6 separate regions of the Homo sapiens genome follow, and all the other regions are linked to region 2. Evidence: promoter capture Hi-C in 16 types of primary human blood cells and fetal thymus (Javierre and others, 2016). All regions are on one chromosome and are shown on one strand. Each heading gives the region's core, a stretch centred on a gene start or on the middle of the fragment in contact. The rest is flanking DNA. Distances are from core to core; before and after follow the strand shown.

Evidence for each region. The method cuts DNA at HindIII sites, captures the fragments that hold promoters and counts their contacts. A CHiCAGO score of 5 or more calls a contact.
Region 1: a contact is called between a fragment that was not itself captured here and the fragment with the promoter of FAM110B in region 2, in 1 of 17 cell types (M2 macrophages). The highest score is 5.5, in M2 macrophages.
Region 3: a fragment that was not itself captured here is called in contact with the fragment with the promoter of FAM110B in region 2 in 1 of 17 cell types (M2 macrophages); the score reaches 7.4 in M2 macrophages.
Region 4: a contact is called between a fragment that was not itself captured here and the fragment with the promoter of FAM110B in region 2, in 2 of 17 cell types (M2 macrophages and monocytes). The highest score is 7.1, in M2 macrophages.
Region 5: a fragment that was not itself captured here is called in contact with the fragment with the promoter of FAM110B in region 2 in 1 of 17 cell types (monocytes); the score reaches 5.4 in monocytes.
Region 6: a contact is called between a fragment that was not itself captured here and the fragment with the promoter of FAM110B in region 2, in 4 of 17 cell types (M1 macrophages, monocytes, M2 macrophages and 1 more). The highest score is 6.6, in M1 macrophages.

What each region holds. Positions count from the first base shown.
Region 1 is chr8:57,490,979-57,494,357 of GRCh38, forward strand. LOC105375855 (a long non-coding RNA gene) reads left to right here. Exons shown (of 3, transcript XR_928920.3): 2 at 1,890-1,997. Among named protein-coding and RNA genes, the nearest start is that of LINC00588, 210 kb to the left of the region's middle. The HindIII fragment of the contact is 3,767 bases long and covers 1-3,322 here.
Region 2 is chr8:57,992,752-57,996,103 of GRCh38, forward strand. FAM110B (family with sequence similarity 110 member B) reads left to right here and starts at 1,772. Exons shown (of 4, transcript NM_001377989.1): 1 at 1,772-2,055. RefSeq lists silencers at 2,099-2,148, 2,169-2,218 and an enhancer at 2,223-2,723. The HindIII fragment of the contact is 13,337 bases long and covers 1-3,352 here.
Region 3 is chr8:58,255,237-58,258,467 of GRCh38, forward strand. LINC03133 (long intergenic non-protein coding RNA 3133) reads right to left here. Exons shown (of 8, transcript NR_105005.1): 6 at 2,551-2,609; 7 at 1,858-1,932; 8 at 535-857. Among named protein-coding and RNA genes, the nearest start is that of LINC03133, 15 kb to the right of the region's middle. RefSeq lists an enhancer at 415-2,326. The HindIII fragment of the contact is 739 bases long and covers 911-1,649 here.
Region 4 is chr8:58,272,211-58,275,173 of GRCh38, forward strand. No RefSeq gene overlaps it. Among named protein-coding and RNA genes, the nearest start is that of LINC03133, 1.6 kb to the left of the region's middle. The HindIII fragment of the contact is 3,834 bases long and covers 1-2,963 here.
Region 5 is chr8:58,439,765-58,442,964 of GRCh38, forward strand. UBXN2B (UBX domain protein 2B) reads left to right here. Exons shown (of 8, transcript NM_001077619.2): 6 at 1-6. Among named protein-coding and RNA genes, the nearest start is that of UBXN2B, 30 kb to the left of the region's middle. The HindIII fragment of the contact is 837 bases long and covers 1,333-2,169 here.
Region 6 is chr8:58,320,341-58,323,272 of GRCh38, forward strand. No RefSeq gene overlaps it. Among named protein-coding and RNA genes, the nearest start is that of LINC03133, 50 kb to the left of the region's middle. RefSeq lists an enhancer at 1,557-1,706. The HindIII fragment of the contact is 775 bases long and covers 1,169-1,943 here.

The DNA.
Region 1 (3,379 bases), core at 189-2,688, 500 kb before region 2:
GCTAGAACTCATGTTACAAGACTTTATGGAGAAAAAATAATGAGTGAGTTCAGATCTCAGAGCACCTTTCAGAGATTCATGACCTTTCTCCCTTCAAGTTCTTCACCTTTCTCCTCAGCCCAGAGCCTCTGCCTCCTTCCTGATCAAGGAAGTCTCACCTCCTCCGTTCCCATGCCAGATACATACAGACCTGGGTTTGAGTTCTTGTTTTCAGATGTTGGATATTTTTCCTCACCTAGTCACTTACCATTTTATTGTTAGTTTACTTACTTCTGAACTGAAGGAAATAATACCAGTCTAAAGGGCTGCGAGATTAAATGAGAAAATCTATGCAGAGTGCCCGACAGTGGCTGTCACAAATTGAGTGATCAAAAAATAATCTCTACCTCTCTCTTCTGCACAATCTCTATCTCTTCCTTTCCAAAACTGCTGGAAGAGAAAGGGGGATAAAGCAGTGATCTGGCTCCGAAAGTCCCCTCCAGACGTCATGGCTACCTTTTTTTCCTTGGTTTCCTGGGCAAGCCTGCCATCTAGGGGCATCTTCAGTTCCTTTCTCATCTACTCTCAGTGATGATATTCTCATCAGATTTTACACTGAAAATATTGATTTTGTGTGTGTGACGCAGGAACTCTGTCCTGCTGGATTATAAGAGGCTAAACTTTAAAGACTCCCTTGACTTCAATTTATGATATCAGTTGCAGCTGAGGTCCTGAAGCTGGAGTACTAAACCAAGCATGCCCATTTCATAAAAACATGTTTCCTATACCTTCCCGGAACCTCTTTCCTTCTTAGGCTTCATAGAAAGAGAGGTAAAACTCTCTGGCTGTGGGTGCAAAGCTATAGCATCACTTGCGTACAGAATCATGGTTCTACCCCATCTTCCTTTAGTAGCACTTAACATAGACATCATTTACTTACTTACCTGTTTATAGTCAGACTCCCACAACTGGGTTGTAATCTCCAGAATTACAACCTGATGAAATTGTAACCTGATGGAAAAATGAGCAAAAAAGCAATGGACATAAATGGAAGTATCTCCAAAAGAGACAAATCCCAAAGAGCAAGAATATTTTCCCCCATTCTGTTTCCTAGTGCCTAGCCTGTAGTAGACATTCCCTAAATCTTTGTTGAAAAAATTAGTGATTAAATTTTTTCTCTTATCTTCCTGGATTTTCAACCCTAGTCACACACAACCCACTACCCATAGGCCTTCCTCCAAGTTGTAGCTCTTTCTGACTTTCATCAGTTTCTGCAGCTTGCCTTGCCATTCAAGCAGCTTGACCTATTTCCCACTACCCCAGCATATTTCCCTCCTATTTGTAGTCTTTTTCTTTTTTAATTTTAATTTTGGCAAAATACATGTTCATAGCTGACATTTAATGGGACAAACGTCATATACGAAAAATACATGTGGCCCCTGCCTCATTCCTGCCAGCCCTTTCTTACTCTCCATCCTATCCCCAGTGGCATCGCTTTACCTATGGGTTTCCTGGCACTGACTTTCATATTTTCAGTAATATGTTCATGCCAGTTCCAGTGAGAGGACTGTTTGCCCCCAACCATAATAAAATCAGTACAGAAATTAAGTTTTAGAAATTTTTATAGCAATTGATATTGTCTCATTACCCTAAATCAAGACGATTTTCTCAAAATTTATTTTTATTGTCTTACAAAAGTATCTGCCTCTGGTGGGATGGAAAATAAAACAAAACAAAAATGGTTCCTTCTCCACAGAAAGCCTGAGTGTCAGTGCTCTGGGCCACCGCACAGTGATGCTAGAGTCTGTCATTCCAGTGCCCTGCGGGCCCCCTCGCTTTCTGCTCGGTGTTTATTCTTCAGCTCCTGAACACCAGGCTGTTCTCATTTTACCTTGTTTTTATTTGATCAGGTCAGTGAGAGAGCATATGCCCTGGTAGATTCCTGAGAAAAGGAACAGGAGGATGAGAGGTTCAATGTTTTACACATTGCTGGTCTGATAGCTCAGCTTCATTCACAGGTGAGTAGCAATTTTAGTTTGAAAATTATTTTCACTAAGAATTTAATGATATGACTCAATCATCTACTAGCATCCAATATTCTACTAAGAAGTTGAACGTCTTTCTTATTTCCAAAGCTCATTTTGTGGTATTTATTTATTATTCTCTCTATCAACACTCAGAGTTTTATTTATCCCCAGTGTTCTAAAATTTCATGAGTCAGTCATACTTTCAATGTTGGTAATTTTCTTTAATTATTTCACTGGAAATTTTCTTTCCAATGTTCTGTATTCTCTTTCTTCTGCTATAATACCTTTGGATCAAATATTGTTGAATTTTTTATTGATTTTTTTCCTCCCGCTGTCCATGTATCACTTGGTTCTCCTTGCTGACTGTGCAGACTGGGGTGGGAAAAAAACCAACCCTCACATAGAATTTCAACCAATTGCCGTTTCCAGCCCTTGCTTCACTCCACCTTCCATGGTATATGTGCTTCCAATTCCCAAGACTAAACAAATTTCATGAGTTTAATTATTTGTTTTATAACAGTCTTCCTCTCTGCAAGACTTACATTTCCTTTTTTTTTTTTTTGCACACTGCTAACTCAGTTTCTACTTCTTTACTTGCTTTACATATTATAGTTTGAAGTAACAAATGTCTCCAGTTTTATTGAAGTCGGAGATCCTGTTCTGTATACTTACTGCATTGAGATAATTCTAAGACAGGAGGGTGCAAAATCTGTGCTTTTGTGTTACTTTAAAACCAGAAGTCTTTCTCTTCTATTTTATTTGAATTCTAATCAACATACTTTTCCTCCAAGGAGCTAGGAGCTTTCTTGACTGACTCATGTCTTCTCACCACTTCCACATTCTATATGCTACTTATCTTTCTTTCTGGAGTTATCTATTTATAATTTGATTTATTTTAAGTTCCTTGATAGTAGAAACAAACCAAAACAAATTAAACAATAAACAAAACAACAGTCAAATGTATCTGCACACAGAGGACCTTATGTGCAGTTATCCAAAAGAGAAAGATGTTAGGACAATAAAGTGGAAGTGATTTTTTAAAAAAATCTTTCTACTTCTTTGTAGTAACCTGACTTTTTCTTATATATGTTATTTTTCCCAGTGGAAATACTTCCTTATTTGACAAATCTTGAGAAAATTTATATGCATAATCATTCTTTAGAAGAGTATAAAACAAATAGAGCAAATAAAAAATAGGAAATTCACTTATTTTGGGAAAAAAAAGGAGATCATAGGGAGTTTACACAGCTGAGATGGATGTATAATACAAATTGTCACCAGATACTTTTAACTGGTTAGATGCCATCAGTTGAATAAGCTTCTCTTCTGCATCCCCATCCCCAGAGACCGGGCTGCAGTGTGTCCTGGGCTTT
Region 2 (3,352 bases), core at 522-3,021:
ACTGCACTCCAGCCTGGGTGACAGAGTGAGACTCTGTCATCAAAAAAAAAAAAAAAAAAAAAAAGAAAGAAAGCTAAAACTCATTGGTTACATTCCTGATTTTCAAAGCATCGATCATAGGGGAATCTTTTATGATTTTATAAGTGAGTCTTCTGGAAAGAAACTTAACTCAAAATGGCATAAGCAAGAAAGACAATTTATTGGTGCATTACTTCAGAAGTTCAGGATTTGACTGGTTTTAGAGGTGACTGTCTTCGGATGGCCATTGATGTCATCAGGGCACTTTTCTGTCTCCATTGCTCAGTTTGGCTTTTTTTCTGGTTTTGTTTTATTCTCCAGTAAGTTGACTCCAGCTGCTGCACGCATATATGATATGGTCCCAGGAGCTGCCCTGTCAGTCAGGGAAAGGACCCTCCTCCTTTGTTCTCAGACGATATTCTAATTGGCTGGCCTGGGTCATATCCCTCACAATGTCAGGAAGCTCTGTGGGCTAGTCACACCCAATGGGAGGGGGAAATTCCTAAAAGGAAGGGATTGGGGCAAAGAAGTGGGGAAAAAAAGTATACTTGAGAGGGAGAGAAGTTGGTTCCATTTGCTATGGGAATGATGAAAAATAGTTTATTTCTATTGTTATATGACTTTTGGAGTTAATGGAGACCACAACGTAATCTGTGATAACAAGGAATGTATTAGTATGCCAAAGGAAAGTTCCATTTAAATCCCAGTATCATGTCACTTTCTTAAAATGGTAATCTTTAAATAGAAAAAAAATATATTATTATAAAGTCTGAGTTTTATTTAGTTGGCAACTTCTTAACTATTATGAAACAATAGATTCATTGAATTGAAGCACAATTCAAATATAAACGATCTTTCTGAGAAAATGAGATGAGTGAAATCGTATTGTTAATGTACCAGAGATTAAAAAGAAATCCTTGCTCAATATTTTCTAGAAGAAACAATTATTTTGTGAGTCCATATCCCATTCAAATTCATTTTGATAAAGATGGATTTTATCTTTTAGACTTCCCAATAGCAAAATTAAATTACAATGTGTTTAGTCTTCCTAAAACAAATCCTCTCCTGAAACAACCAAGTTATTAAGCAAATCTAAGCAGAAAGTATTCTCAAATACTATATTAGGCGATTAATAATGACGCACCCCAAAGCATTTCATTTTAAAACATCAGCTGGCCCACATTTCAGAGGTAGTACATCATGCTTGATATTTTTCGTTATTTACTATTTTCTCCAAACATTTTTTTGAAGTCTTAAAAATGCCTTCAGAAATTAAGCTAGGACGCTCCATCTGAGTATATGAAAGTTAGTAAACAGAAAATGTCAAGCACCAAGACGTTTGGATGGCTGGACTACCAGGTGGGGTTATCTCATTCAGGGCACAGGCTCTACGTCTCCAGTGCTGAGCGATCTGCACTGGGGTGGCAGTCCGAGATCCAGCGGTATCACCGGGTGGGAGCAGGGTGGGGGTGCTTGCGTGCGGACATAGGTGGGAGTGGGGGATAGGGAGGAAATGGAGGCGCCGACCGAGTGGAATGGGGGGTGGGTCAGGGATGGGGTGGGATGGGCATCAGTAGCGGGGTGGAGATGTTGAGAGAGAGGCAGGGCTTGGAGTGGAGGTGCGAGAAGGGTGGGGACCCGGAAGGTGGGGTGGGGGCGGGATGGAGGCGGGGCGGGGTGTACGAGGGGCGTGTACACTGGCTCAGGGACACGCGCTCTCGGCCACAGCAACTGGCTCCAAGTTCCCTCCCTCACTCTCCGGCGAAGCCTGCCTGAGCCCTCCCACTCGGTGCAGACCGAACCATCGCGGCCGCCGCCAGCCGGGCCCTTCGCGGCCGCGCGTCCTGGGCCCGTTCCGCCAGCCCCGTCTGCTCTCTACCCGCGGCCCCGCGGCGGCGACCGTGAACACTCGGCGGCCCCTACAGCCCGCTCTCGGCCCTTCGTCCCTCGCGGGCCCCGACTCTCCCTCCTTGCAGTCCCCCGGAGCCTGGCTCCCGGCTCGGGCCGCACCGCCAGGGACTGGGGTGAGCGGCCCAGGTAAGACTGGGCCGTGGGGGCCGGGAGAGAGACTGCTGGGCGGGGGTTGGGATTCGGGTTCAGTGGTCGCGCCGCGCCCCGACTGCGGACAATGCGGGAGCTGCGCGCGGCCAGGCGGCGCGGAGCTAAGCCGGCTCTGCGCCTGCAGCTTCCCCGCCCGGCCCGGGTCTCCGTTGAGCCCGGCCTCACTGGCCCAGGCGGACCCCGTCCGGCTTTCTGGGCTGCCGGGGGAGGCGCAGCGCCGCTGCCTGCCCCGCGCCCCCTCTGCGCTCGGCTTGGCTGCACGTCCCGGGCTCGGCTAGGAGGCTGGGCACGGGGCCGGGGCTGGAGCCGGGGTTGGAGCCAGGGCGGGGGGAAGCTGGCCGCGCTGCGGAGCGGAGGTGGGCTCCGAAAGCGCGCCGCCGGTTGCTGCTGGAGGAGTGGGACTACGAAGGATGGGGACTCCGCTCGGCCACCGCTCCTGAATGGTCTCTAATCTCGGTGTTAAATACTTTATGAGAGTATCAATACCACCTAATCCTTTGCTGAGAATTACTGCTAGAAATGTAGATTCTGAGGTTCCGAAAGTTTGTTTTTGGTTACCCCCTCCAGCTCCTCCCGTGGCCTCAATTGTCTCTATTTTCTTTGAAAGCATACAGATTTGAAATAGAATTAAATTCTCCTTGGCTCACTCGTGTCTCCATCACCCAGCGGAGCTCATAACTTGGCAACAAAGCCCATACAGGCTGTGGGAAGCCGCGATGCCTGCTGCCCAGCCTGGTGCCCTCCTATTGTTTAGAGCTGGAGCTGTACAGTGTAAATGGCAGTGACAGGTCTCCCTTAAGCTGGCTCGTGGGGAAGGAAGGGAGATAACTTTGCAGTGTGCTTAAATTACTCTGGAAAGTGGAAAGAAAACACCTGGTGCTCAGCTTTTTAACCCTTTCAAGTTGTTATTCAGATTTATTGACACACACACACAGAAAAGTGCAGGCTTTCTTTCCTGCCTAAAAAATAGGCAACCTCTGTGTTCTTCCTCACAGCCAACTTATGTCCTCTGCAAAATCTGGCACACATCTGTGACAACATTGCACTTCTGGCGTAACTGGTCTATTTCTCAAAAGGGAATATGATAGTAGAATAAGCATTTTTGCAGTATGGATAGTAGGACTTCCATTTTCTTCGTTTCCTTTGTTGGTGAAGAAGGTATTTATTATTTTCCCCCCAGTTTACACGTAGTGATTTCTGGGAAGATACTTGTATTAATTTCTTGTACTCATTTTTGTGACATCACAACCCCTGGTCATTCAGGTAAGCTATT
Region 3 (3,231 bases), core at 30-2,529, 260 kb after region 2:
ACTGGATTCAATTCAGCATGAAAAAATAAAATTAGCTATAAAGCACCACTCTGGGATAACTGGCAAAATTTCTCTGTGACTTGACTAATGGTAATGTGTCTATGTTAAATTTCCCAATTTTGAAAACTGTACTGTGGTTATGTAAGATAATGTCCTTGTTCTTAAGAAATACACTGAAGTATTTAGCAATAAAAGGGCCCAATGTCTCTACATTACTCTCAAGAGGTTCAGAAAATATGTATACATAAATATTTAGTAAGAGAATAATAAATCAATGGGACAAAATATAAACAACTGGTGAATATGAGTAAAGGGATAAGTGATTTCCTAACACGATTTTTGCAACATGTCTGAAAGTTTAAAACTATTGCTAAATTAAAAGTTACAAAAAAAAGTGTAAAAAAAAATCTATGGTGCCAAGATTACATTTTGTGGTAATAACCATATGGATATAAAGAAAATAGGAGGACTTAGGTTTTATTTCCATTGAAAAACAATGAGTAGATAAAATTAGAGGTCAACAACTAAGACAGATCCGATTTTTGCATTCTGCTTCATTGCCATAGAAAGTAAACAAGAACAAAAGATCAGAATTTTGTTTCCTGACTGTAAAACTTCGTCACTTGTCTTTTTTCTGATTTGCTTTCCAGTCTCTCACGTCTGGAATTCTCGAAATCACTGGTTCCAACTGGATCACTCTCCGCAAATGGCCTCAGCATTAAAGAATGATCTCTTTTTATAAACTTCAACAGAAGGTAATCAAATACAGTATTTATCATAGCAAAATAGTGGGAACATGGGAAAATGCCTTTCCAGCTGGTTCTCATGTTTTCCTGAGAGGCTTTAGATATTGCAGCCTAAATAATTTTAGAAAAAATTCTCAGCTCAAATTAGTAAGTAGATGGCTGAAAGCTTATTTTATTTGCAAGGAGACACTATAATTGGACTTTGAGAAAGGGAAAAAAAAGGCATGATTATATTGCTGTGGTGTTGAATTGCAGAGAAGAGGGATGGACTTAAATTTATAATGTGGGTTGAACTTTTCCCATTTGTAGAGACCTCTATTGTGGAAATAAAAACGTTGTATGTAGTTTTTGTTTACTTCTCTCACCAATTCTGGGTTCTCCAATCCCAAATAATTTTTTTCCCAAAGCTGTAATTACTGAGATTACAAATAATTCGAAGCATTGCAGCTGGTCCTGTTCTGGCATAATTCCAACACATAATCACCTGTCGTGTGCACTAATTCCTGCCATGATTAAGCCCCTTTATTCGAAGTAGGGTTTGACAGCTCTATTGTTTAAAATGTCACCCATTAATAGAACAGGCATGGGCTTGTCTGTACTTGAACTAGTTTCCTTGCATATTTCCTATGTCAGCCTCAGTTAAGCTGTTGTACTGTGTATGTGATGAGTGATCACTTTTCCTGAAGCCTGATATTGTCAATAAAAGACTAATGATATGTGAGACCACAGCTTAGTTAGATATAAACATAGATTCAAACAAAGCCTTCTAGAAAACATTGGAAAGAGAATTTAATGGGCTCCACACTAGAGCAGTAGACACAGAATTGTTTTGGTGTCTTTTAAGACAAAAGGGCCACACTTACACATGACGATAATACCGTTTTTCCTTGTTGTGGGAAAACAAGCTTCTGACTGAACCTGAAAATTTACCATTTGAAAATGTCTCTACAATATATTTTTAATATATTACTTTTAATGAAGGTAATCTTTTCAAAATCTTTTTGTTATTTTTCTAAAACTCAACTCTAAATGCTAATTAAATGTGACAAATCTTATGAAACTGCTTACAGGGATACAGAGCCTACTTCAAGTAAAAGAAGAAAGTAAATACCTTCTATAGGTGACCTTGAAAATGGTAAATTACAACCACTGATTTTGTTGTTCGAACTGAAAATTTTGTGCGATCCTAAAAAGCTCCATTGAGAAAAATTGGCACAGTCCTAAACTGACCCAAATGGAGATGCCAGAAGGAATAAGGAAGGCTTTGTGTTAATGCTTAAGTTCCATCTCCCGACCATATCTTATTCAAATTCATGCATGCTTTGCTAATATCTTTCACCTGCTACTGTTAGCATTTGTGGTTGCAGCTAGATTTCTACAGTTCTTAATCAAATAGCAGCCTCCTTCTGTTTCTGTAACCCACAAAGACCATGTGATCACGTCTGCAGTCATTTCCATTGTCTACTGTTTGCCTAAAGTTTGATCACAGACCACAGCAAGTTACAGTGATTGTGCAGAGAGTTGTCTGAGAAGAATGTCTTTCCCAGATCTATTTGGTCCACCAGCTGCAAAGGTCAATCATAGATAGATAGTATCAGAACTCCCAACTCCTACATTTTCAGCCTGTACCCAGAAGGAGGGCCCTTCTGATTGCTGACTCAAGACCTTCACTCACTTGCATTATTTTATCACCAAGTCCTAGCACTTCCCTTATACATATTGAAGATTTTATTCCTAATGGATCAAGAAGCTTGAAAGGCCAATCAAAAAGCTATCCTCTCAGCCAATAAGAGGTAAAGGATACATGTTTTTTTTGAAAAAAGAAAAAAAAAACTTTTGTCCTTGGGTCAGCCTCTCAGTGACCTATAGGAAAAAACAGACAGAGAGTCTTTAGGAGGTATAAACAGAAAAGAATTGATACTTGGGAAAAAGATTTTAAGAGTGGAGGATTCTAAATATAGTTTCAGAATTCTGCCTTTCTATCAGCACAATATAAAGTCATTTGACATGTTGTTTGTGCTTTCATTCCAAGAAGCACATAGATGAATGGGCGTGGAGAGAGCCAGGCATCAAGCCAATGCATTGTGTAGGGGCTCTGTCCTGGGCAAATTTTCCCTTTCCCTCCTCCTCCTTCCCTAAATCCCAACATGCTGCCAACAAACAACTCTAGCCAGGACAGATAAATTTCACCACTTGTAAAATTAGGCAAATATGTAGATAGCAGAGCAAATTGTTACTTAGACTGTGCCATGTTTCTAAAAATAAAAACAGTAACAATTACCCTTGAAACTGCTTGTTAAAATGTCTAAAACTCTTTCAAAAATAATAGTTAGAAATGCTATTGAATCATCAATTATTTTCTTAATGCCACCTGTTAATTGCCATAAATCCTCCCCTGTGGACATAGTTATTCAGCCTGTTACAGACGTAATTCACCTTTACATAATTTCTGAAAAAATACATGCAAATCGAATTTTGTAAATTG
Region 4 (2,963 bases), core at 107-2,606, 280 kb after region 2:
TGCAGAAGGCACCAGCCACACCTCAAGGGACAACAAAGGATGCCCAGAAGAGGCAGGATTCAGAACAGAGACCCCTTTTGCTACAACCACAAAGTGCTCCTAGGCTCAGATGCCTTGTGGGAGACAAGGAGATCCTGAAGAGAAGAACCCTGAGAGACCAGAGGCAGCTCTGAAGGGAGATGGAGCTTTGAATTGACTAAATATTTTCAAGATTTTTTAAATTAAAAGTGATACACGGGATAGCAATTTCAAGGGTTTTCTTCCACCCATTTGTAGGTGACATGAGAATTTTAAAATAACATGAGGTCCTTTACAGAAAAAGTTTCACTTGATGATTTTTTTGCCCCTGAGTCTGAGCACGCACATTTTGACCTTCCTCTCTCACACCAGTGAACGGGCAGTTGCAACACAATGTGTTAGGGTGCCCTTGGGGAATTGCCAAGTCTTCTGAGAAGATCTAAGCTGATAGTGGGAGGGTAGGCATCGACCTGGGAAGGGTGCTGGGAGAGGGGAGGGTTCCGTGAGCCTATCTCCAAGCCTCTCAGCTGATTGAAAGATAAAGATGGAACATGATGTGTCTGTAGAACTTCAAGGATACTGTTAGAGCTGGAATTTTCAGTAAAAGGGGGAAAACAGAAATGAGGGTAGAAGTCAGCGGGAGGTGGGCCATGATGGAATGTGTGCTCAGTTCTAATTAAGTGAATTCAACATAATCCCCCATAAAAATACAATAGGATTGTTCTGGAACTAGAAAAGCTGGTTCTAAAATTAATAATGAAAACTATAAAGCATAAAAACCAGAACATTTCTAAAAAGCAAGAGTAATAAGGGATAATTTATTATAACATATTACAAATTTCTATCATTGTTCTCTAATATAATAAAAAATAGTATGGAACTGGTATATATAGTAATTTAGTATATGATGAAAGTAGCATTTCAAATCAATGAGAGGATTAATAATTCAGTTTATGGTGTTTGAGCATCTAGAAAAAATAATAAAGTTGGATCCATACCACACAACTGATGCCAAAATAAATGTCACAGTTTTCGATGAGTAAAAGTTTAAATGTCAAAAATGAAACCTTTAAAATTCTAGAAGAAGTCATAAAATTAAAAAAATACTAATAATCTCAGACTAAGGAGGATCTTTCTCAGTCTGATGCACAACTCAGAAGCCAGGACTTTTTGATAAACTTGATAACATAAAACTATTTCTCATAGAGAAAAATGTCACAAAAAAAGTTAAGACAATGACAAATGAAACAAAAATGAACAAACAAAACTTCCTTCCACAAGGAGCTAATTTCTTTAATTTATAAAGAGAAAGAACAACAGTATAATGACCCAAATAAGAAATAGCTCACAAAAAAAGCAAGTGTGAATGGTCTTAGACATATAATATTTTCAACTGCATTTGTCATAAGAGAAATGCAATTTAGAATTACCATGACACAGCCGGGCACAGTGGCTCACGTCTGTAATCCCAACACTTCAGGAGGCTGAGGTGGCTAGATCACCAGAGGTCAGGAGTTTGAGACCAGCCTGGCCAACATGGCAAAACCCCGTCTCTACTAAAATAAAAATAGAAAAATTAGCCAGGCATGGTGGCACGTGCCTGTAGTCCCAGCTACTCAAGAGGCTAAGGCAGGACAATCGCTTGAACCCAGGAGGCGGAGGTTGCAGTGAGACGAGATCATACCACTGCACTCCAGCCTGGGTGACAGAGTGAGACTCTGCCTCAAAAAAAAAAATTACCACGACACACGGGTTCTTACTTGTCAGGTGGACAACAGTTCAGTGAGGGAGCTCCCTGGCTTTTGCAGGGCAGAGATACACAGATCCTTCTTGGCAGAGCCAGGACCTGGGCAGCTGATGGCTCTTGAAGGCAAAGGTTTTCAACCCTTAGCATCACCTGAAGACCTTTAAAGTTCCCAATGCCCAGGCGACAATCTGAATCTTTGAGGTGGAACCCAGCCATTAGTATTTCTCAGATGCCTGCGTGATTTCCATGTGAGAGAAGGGTGTGAATCGCTGCTGGAGGGCTGTTAAGAAGTTAGCCTGCAGATATACTCATTCATGTATAAAATAATATGGAAAAGAATAGTCTTTGAAGCGTGGTTTGCCATAGCAAGAACAGGCAACATAATAAACATCCCTCAGTAAGAAATTGGTTAGATGTATCAGTGGTTTCTCCAAATAATGGAATACTGTGCAGACAGCAATTCTATATACACTGACTTGGAGCAATTGCCATAATGTACAGTGTTTTTAAGTGAAAAAAAGTAAAGTGTAAAAAGTGTGACTGGAGTATCAGCATTTGTGTACACATTTTGAAAGGAATCAAAAATTTCCACATTGATTATATATTCTAGTTTACTGGAATGGAATAATTTTTTTTCTTTTTTTTCTTTGAAACGGAGTCTCGCTCTGTCACCTGTGCTGGAGTGCTGTGGTGTGATATTGGCTCACTGCAACTTCTGCCTCCTGGGTTCAAATGATTCTCGTGCCTCAGCCTCTCGAGTAGCTGAGATTACAGGCACGCACCACCATGGCTGGCTAATTTTCTTGTATTTTTAGTAGAGACGGAGTTTCACCATGTTGGCCATGCTGGTCTCAAACTTCTGGCCTCAAGTGATCCACCCACTGCGGCCTCCCGAAGTGCTGGGATTATACCGCACTTGGCCATGCAATGGAATAATTAATTTACCTGAAATGACTACTGTTACCATGCAAGGCATGTGTATTACATTGAGAGAAGGTATAATTCTTCATGATATTGCAGGGGCTAAGACATACACAAAAAATATAAGTAGATATGTGAAGAGTGGACACTAATGTTTCCAAGTAAACATTTCTGGACAAATAGACTTCTTTTTTGGAAAGACTGCTTATTTACTGATAAATTCCAGAGGAATTAATTTGTAATCTGGTCAGGATGTGTTTATGAGCTAATACATTCA
Region 5 (3,200 bases), core at 501-3,000, 450 kb after region 2:
TGGAAGGTAAAAATCCTAAAATGAGAAAAATACCTTTGTTGAACATGAATTTTTCTTTGAGAATAAGAAAAGCAAAATGACCTATGAAGTAAAAAACAAAAATATGAACCATGCACATTAGATATATACATCTGTTAATATTATATCATAATATTATATCATGTGATACCATTATATCATAATATTAATTGTGATATTAATAATACTGTAATTAATACTTAGATTGCAGTTACCATGTTTGTGGCCCTCTAAGCCGTATACATGTGTTATCTCACTTAATCTTTACAACAGCTCTTTGATGTAGATACTGTTATTACTTCATTTTGCAGATGCAGTAATTTGCCCAAGATTGTTGAGCTAAGAAATGACTAGCATGTGGGATTCAAACCCAGGCACTCTGACTACAGAGTTTGTGCTTTTCACCACTATATTATATGCCTCTTTCAGATTACCTGGTTTCAAAGGAGAGAATTGTAAAGGGTTGTCGATGAGATAAAATAATGGATACCTTACATCACAACTTAAGCATGCATGTCTGCCATCAGTAATGACCAAACTCTTGCAGCAGGAGCAATGTGCTTAGCTTTGTGATTTTCAATAGTTTTTAAACAGCCAAACCCTTTTTTCAAGTCATGGAAGTGCAATATGTAAAACCTGAGCTCCTCTGATTGTCGGTGAAAGAAGGCATTGTATCTGAGACATTTCCAAAGAACCTTAGGACTTTGAAGAGCACAATTTAAAAACCAACGCACATGGCAGAATGTATGAGTGGTTTCCTTTATAATACCCATGGCTTAATGTAATCTTAGAAATTTAAAATATGTTGGTAAAAGTTACCCTCTACTCGTCCACATATTGTTGCAGGTGATATGGAATTGCCACATTGGCAATGTTTCCAGTGTATTCTTTGGTGCATCCTTTGCTTCTCTTCATGTGATTCCTTCCCTTCCAAGCCCCCTTCAGTTGCCTCGTGTACACTGGTTGTCTATTCTCCCCTTATTTTTCAAGATAGGAAAAAATTCAATATTGCTTCTTTATGCTTTGCTATCTCTAGTCTCCCTTTCTGTATTCTCTTCTCCTGATAGAGACTGGCACTGGGGACATAAAGGAAATACAGGAATTTATGTTGACCTGTTTTTCTTAGGACACAAACTCTTTAATTTTAGGTCACAGGTTTACTTGGAAATTTTCTCCCTCGTCTCTCTTTACACGTCAGGCTTCTCTTTCTTTCTCTTTTTTTTTTTTTGAGATGGGGTCTTGCTCTGTTGCCCAGACTGGAGTACAGTGGTGTAGTCATAGTTCACTGCAGCCTTGACCTCCTGGGCTCAGGCAAGCTTCCTACCCCACTCTCCTGACTGGGACTATAGGCACTGCCGAGCGCAGCTCATTTTTTTTCATTTTTAGGTTTTGTAGAGACACGTGTCTTACTATGTTGCCCAGGCTGGTCTTGAATTCCTGGCCTCAAGCTGTTCTTCTGCCTTGGCCTGCCAAAGTGCCTGGGTTACAGGCATGAGCCACTATGCCTGGCCAGGCTTCTCTCAAATTGTATAATATTATGTTTTTACTCCTCTTGTTGTGATCAACATATATATATATATATATATGTATGTGTATATATATGTATGTATGTGTATATATAGTATGTATGTATGTTCTTAATTTTGTATCACTTCCCATTTTTACTTAATATTTATTGAGATTACGATTTTTAATTAGAATGCAGATAAAATGCCTAGTCATCTCTTCAATATATACATATTCCTTCTCTATTATTTAAATGTATGACCAAGAATTAATGTTGGACCGCACATCCTTGTTAGTAGACCTACAGTAAATCTAGACTTGGAATTGAAGAAGGTAGCATAAAGGGAAGGCAGCTAAGAAGAGCCAGTGATTATTAAACTCATGAAAATAACGATATTATCTGATGATAGTATTCACAAAGGCCAGTCATTTTCCTTATAAGGCAAATAGAGAAAATAACAGAAAAGAAAGGAGAAACTGATGGAAGAAAGTGACAGAGATCAGTGGTAATAATGCCATGTTAATTTACTAGCCATATTGATCAAGATTTTGATTATGGAAAACAGAATCTACTTGCTGGTAGTAATAGGTTTCTTACAGGATCTTGTGTAGTTTATAGAATATCTGGAAGAGGCAAGCAAACCAAGCTTTCCTTAGCCAGGAGAAACAAACACAGTGGAAGAGTGTTCCAGAGAAAACAACTATGTCCCCTAGTCAGGTGCTTGGTGCCCATGAAACTAGGGACTAGATACTAGAACATTCCATCATCGAAGAAATAAATGCCTCCACCACCTTAGTAACCACAAGAGCTACAGAGTTTCCACTTTGCAGTGCTTACTTCCACCAAACAAGTGTATGTTTGTTTGGTGGAAGGGTAGAATCATGAAATCCTAGCTGCAAGAGAGTCTGGGAGATGGAGTCTTTAGAATTTTCAGCTTCTAGTAGAAGGAGATAGCATGATGATGTGAGCCTATGTGTTCACAAACCCAAATGTTGAATAAGCAAATATCATATATTCTAAAGTGAAGAATTACATAGAACATTTTATATTAAAGATTTACATTAAGAAATATATTAAAAGTTTAATAGTTAACCTTCATTTAGAAAGTAACTTTCTAAAATGGCTTGGTTCTCAAGAGTTCAAGACAATTATTTACTGAGCAGGAAATAAAAAGAAGCAAGTAAAACAGAAATGAAAATAATCTATTGTCTTCCATAGATGGCAGTCTAATTACACACAGAATGTTACATAGATGGGAACTAAATCTTTTCATGTGATATACAATTATGGTGCAAACCAAAATGCTGTAAAAATGTTACATAGTACCCTCACATAATAGAAGAAAGCAAACCATAGATATAAAACTGCAAATTTGCAATGGTAGAACAAACTGTATTATTGAGTAAAAATTAGCTTGGTGAGCTAGAGTAGTGCCTAACAAAATCACAGAGTCATTTTTAATAGGGAGGACTAGCGAGTAGGCATTCTTGGTAGGCTTTTGAGCTGGCGTGTATAATGATAAAAATCATGATTTGAAGCTGATGTTTCTGCAGAAGAACAGTCACTGCCTGTTTGTCCTACTGTTCTCTTCAAAAGATTGTGCTTGCCACTCTCACTTACCTGAGATTTGACTTCATCTGGGGCCCTAGACCCTGAGGGCTGTCTTCTCTAAAAC
Region 6 (2,932 bases), core at 306-2,805, 330 kb after region 2:
AAGAAAGACTTAGCAGAAGACTGTCAACAGTCCTATCATCTGGAAGAATTAGTGCTTCAGCCCCAAAAATGGGTATCTGGAAAAACTGGTGCTTCAGCCCTAAAGACATCTGGTCAGTGCAACAGAGCATCTGCTATGGGAAGTTATTAGGGGGTATTGAGCAAGGAAATGGCATGATTGGAATCATACTTTTAAGGAACACTCTTGTTGCTACACTGAAAATGATTGTTGGGAGTAAGAGCACCAGTAAGGAGACCAACTAGAAAGTGAGTGGCCAATTTAGGCTTCTGACCCTGCACTGTCTAGAAAGTAAGCCAGGAAGCAGTGTGGAGCCTGCTAAATGTCCAAAGCAATTCCTTTGTCATATCAGGGAATCAGAACATCCATTGGAAGATCCTATTTATTATTTCAATATAAGCAAGAATATCTGCAGAAAGTTACAAGAAGCCCAGGAGACATCATCAGTCTCAGATCCAAGAGAGACAATGCCATGACCACTTGCAACAAATACAATAATAATTTGGTCCAGAAAACGGATGATCCTAAAAGGAAGGACCTGCACCATAAAGGTGGCTTTGCTACATCCATTTTAAAAGTAGGGAAATGGTGTGGCTGCTAATTCAAATTGAAATCTTTGGCCCAGGCTGCAAAAAACTTTACTGCAACAAAGTAAAATAGGTATATATGCAAAGTTCTAGTGAAATTTAATGCTAAATCATCTAATATATGAATTCATCAGATCATAGATTTAATTACTAAATATTTTGCCAATTTGGATCTTAAAATATCTCCCCTCGGCCGGGCGTGGTGGCGCACACCTGTAATCCCAGCACTTTGGGAGGCTGAGGTGGGCAGATCACGAGGTCAGGAGATTGAGACCATCCTGGCTAACACGGTGACCCTGTCTCTACTAAAAAATACAAAAACTTAGCTGGGTATGGTGTCAGATGCCTGTAGTCCCAGCTACTCGGGAGGCTGAGGCAGGAGAATGGCATGAACCCAGGAGACGGAGCTTGCAGTGAGCCAAGATTGGGCCACTGTACTCCAACCTGGGCAACAGAGCGAGACTCCGTCTCAAAAAAAAAAAAATCTCCCCTCAAGGAACTGGTTCTGAAACTTTTGTATGCATGGGAACCACTTTGGATGCTTGTTTAAAATGCAAATTCCAAGCTTCAACCCCAAAGACCTGGTGCAGGGTGTGGACCAAACACCCAGGATGACTCTGAGGAAGTTGGGTGATGGACAGTCGTGAGAAGCACCATCTAGGGAACATTCACCAGAAAGCAGAAGGCAGCATGAGCAATCGTATGCAAGTGGAAATAGATCTGTAATTGTTGTTACCATAAACAGCCTCTGTCCAAAAAAGTTGTCACCCTTCAATATGCCTGAGTTTAAAATTTTCCTCAGTCTCAAGGTTCTGTAAACCCAAGTTCATCATGCTAGCTGCAGAAAATAACAGCTGAAAGTGGTTAGCCAAAGGAAGTACCACAGACTAAATCACAGGAAGATGGGTAATCATGTGTACTTACTGCCGCATCTGCTGCAGTGCACAAGAAAGTTTTGGTTTCACACCGAAGAAAGAATAACTTAAAATCCCATAAATAATACATTGAAGAGAGAAAAGTCATTCTAGTGCTGTATCTGGAGAGGCCCTGCAAAGATAAAAGGCTCTGTTCAGTGTTTATCTTGCTGCCAGAGAACAAGGCAAGCAGTGAGGCAGGGTTGTAATTGACCCAAAAGCACATATGAGAAATGAACCAAGGAGAGTGTGCAGTTAAAAGCCTCATATAAAAAGAGAGCTGTAAAGTAAAAGTCCGGCAAATCTGCATTTCAAACGATATGAAAATATGTTTGATCTAGTATACCGATGCACTAAATTTGCATAAAATTCAACCTTTTGTCCTGGTGTGATTGGAAAGGTGCAAAAATTAATTTGAGGTTAAAGCTTTAGCATCCTATCTCTCTTAGACATAAAAAGGACATAATTAACCAGAACAGCTGGTTACAACCTTCATTGGAAACTCTGGGAAGCCAATGTATTCCATTACTGATCCTAGAAGGTAAAATCTACAACAGATATTGATTTGGTAATCCAAGATTCTTATCAATTCTGACCTACATAAAATCTAGTTGTCTTATAGTACCATGTAACTTGTGTCACAGCATCCATTTAATTGAATACTTATGTGAGTAGATGTTTAAAGCTGCCTCTGACTGAAGTTCTATTATCAAACCTGGAAGGAAGGAAGAAAAAGACTGTCATTTCATAATGGCTTGATACAGGAAATTATATTTAGTATAAAAGTTAATTATTAATCATATATAGGAGCCAAGAAATAAAACAGAACAAAAGTTATTACTTTGATATTTATAATGTTTTATAGATTTATCTTGTCAACTGTTTTTTTCTTGGAAAAATACTGTATTTAAGTTTTGTTTTATGCTCACCATCACTGGCCATCAGAGAAATGCAAATCAAAACCACAATGAGATATCATCTCACACCAGTTAGAATGGCAATCATTAAAAAGTCAGGAAACAACAGGTGCTGGAGAGGATGTGGAGAAATAGGAACACTTTTACACTGTTGGTGGGACTGTAAACTAGTTCAACCATTGTGGAAGTCAGTGTGGCGATTCCTCAGGGATCTAGAACTAGAAATACCATTTGACCCAGCCATCCCATTACTGGGTATATACCCAAAGGACTATAAATCATGCTGCTATAAAGACACATGCACACGTATGTTTATTGCGGCATTATTCACAATAGCAAAGACTTGGAACCAAGCCAAATGTCCAACAATGATAGACTGGATTAAGAAAATGTGGCACATATACACCATGGAATACTATGCAGCCATAAAAAATGATGAGTTCATGTCCCTTGTAGGGACATGGATGAAATTGGAAATCATCATTCTCAGTAAACT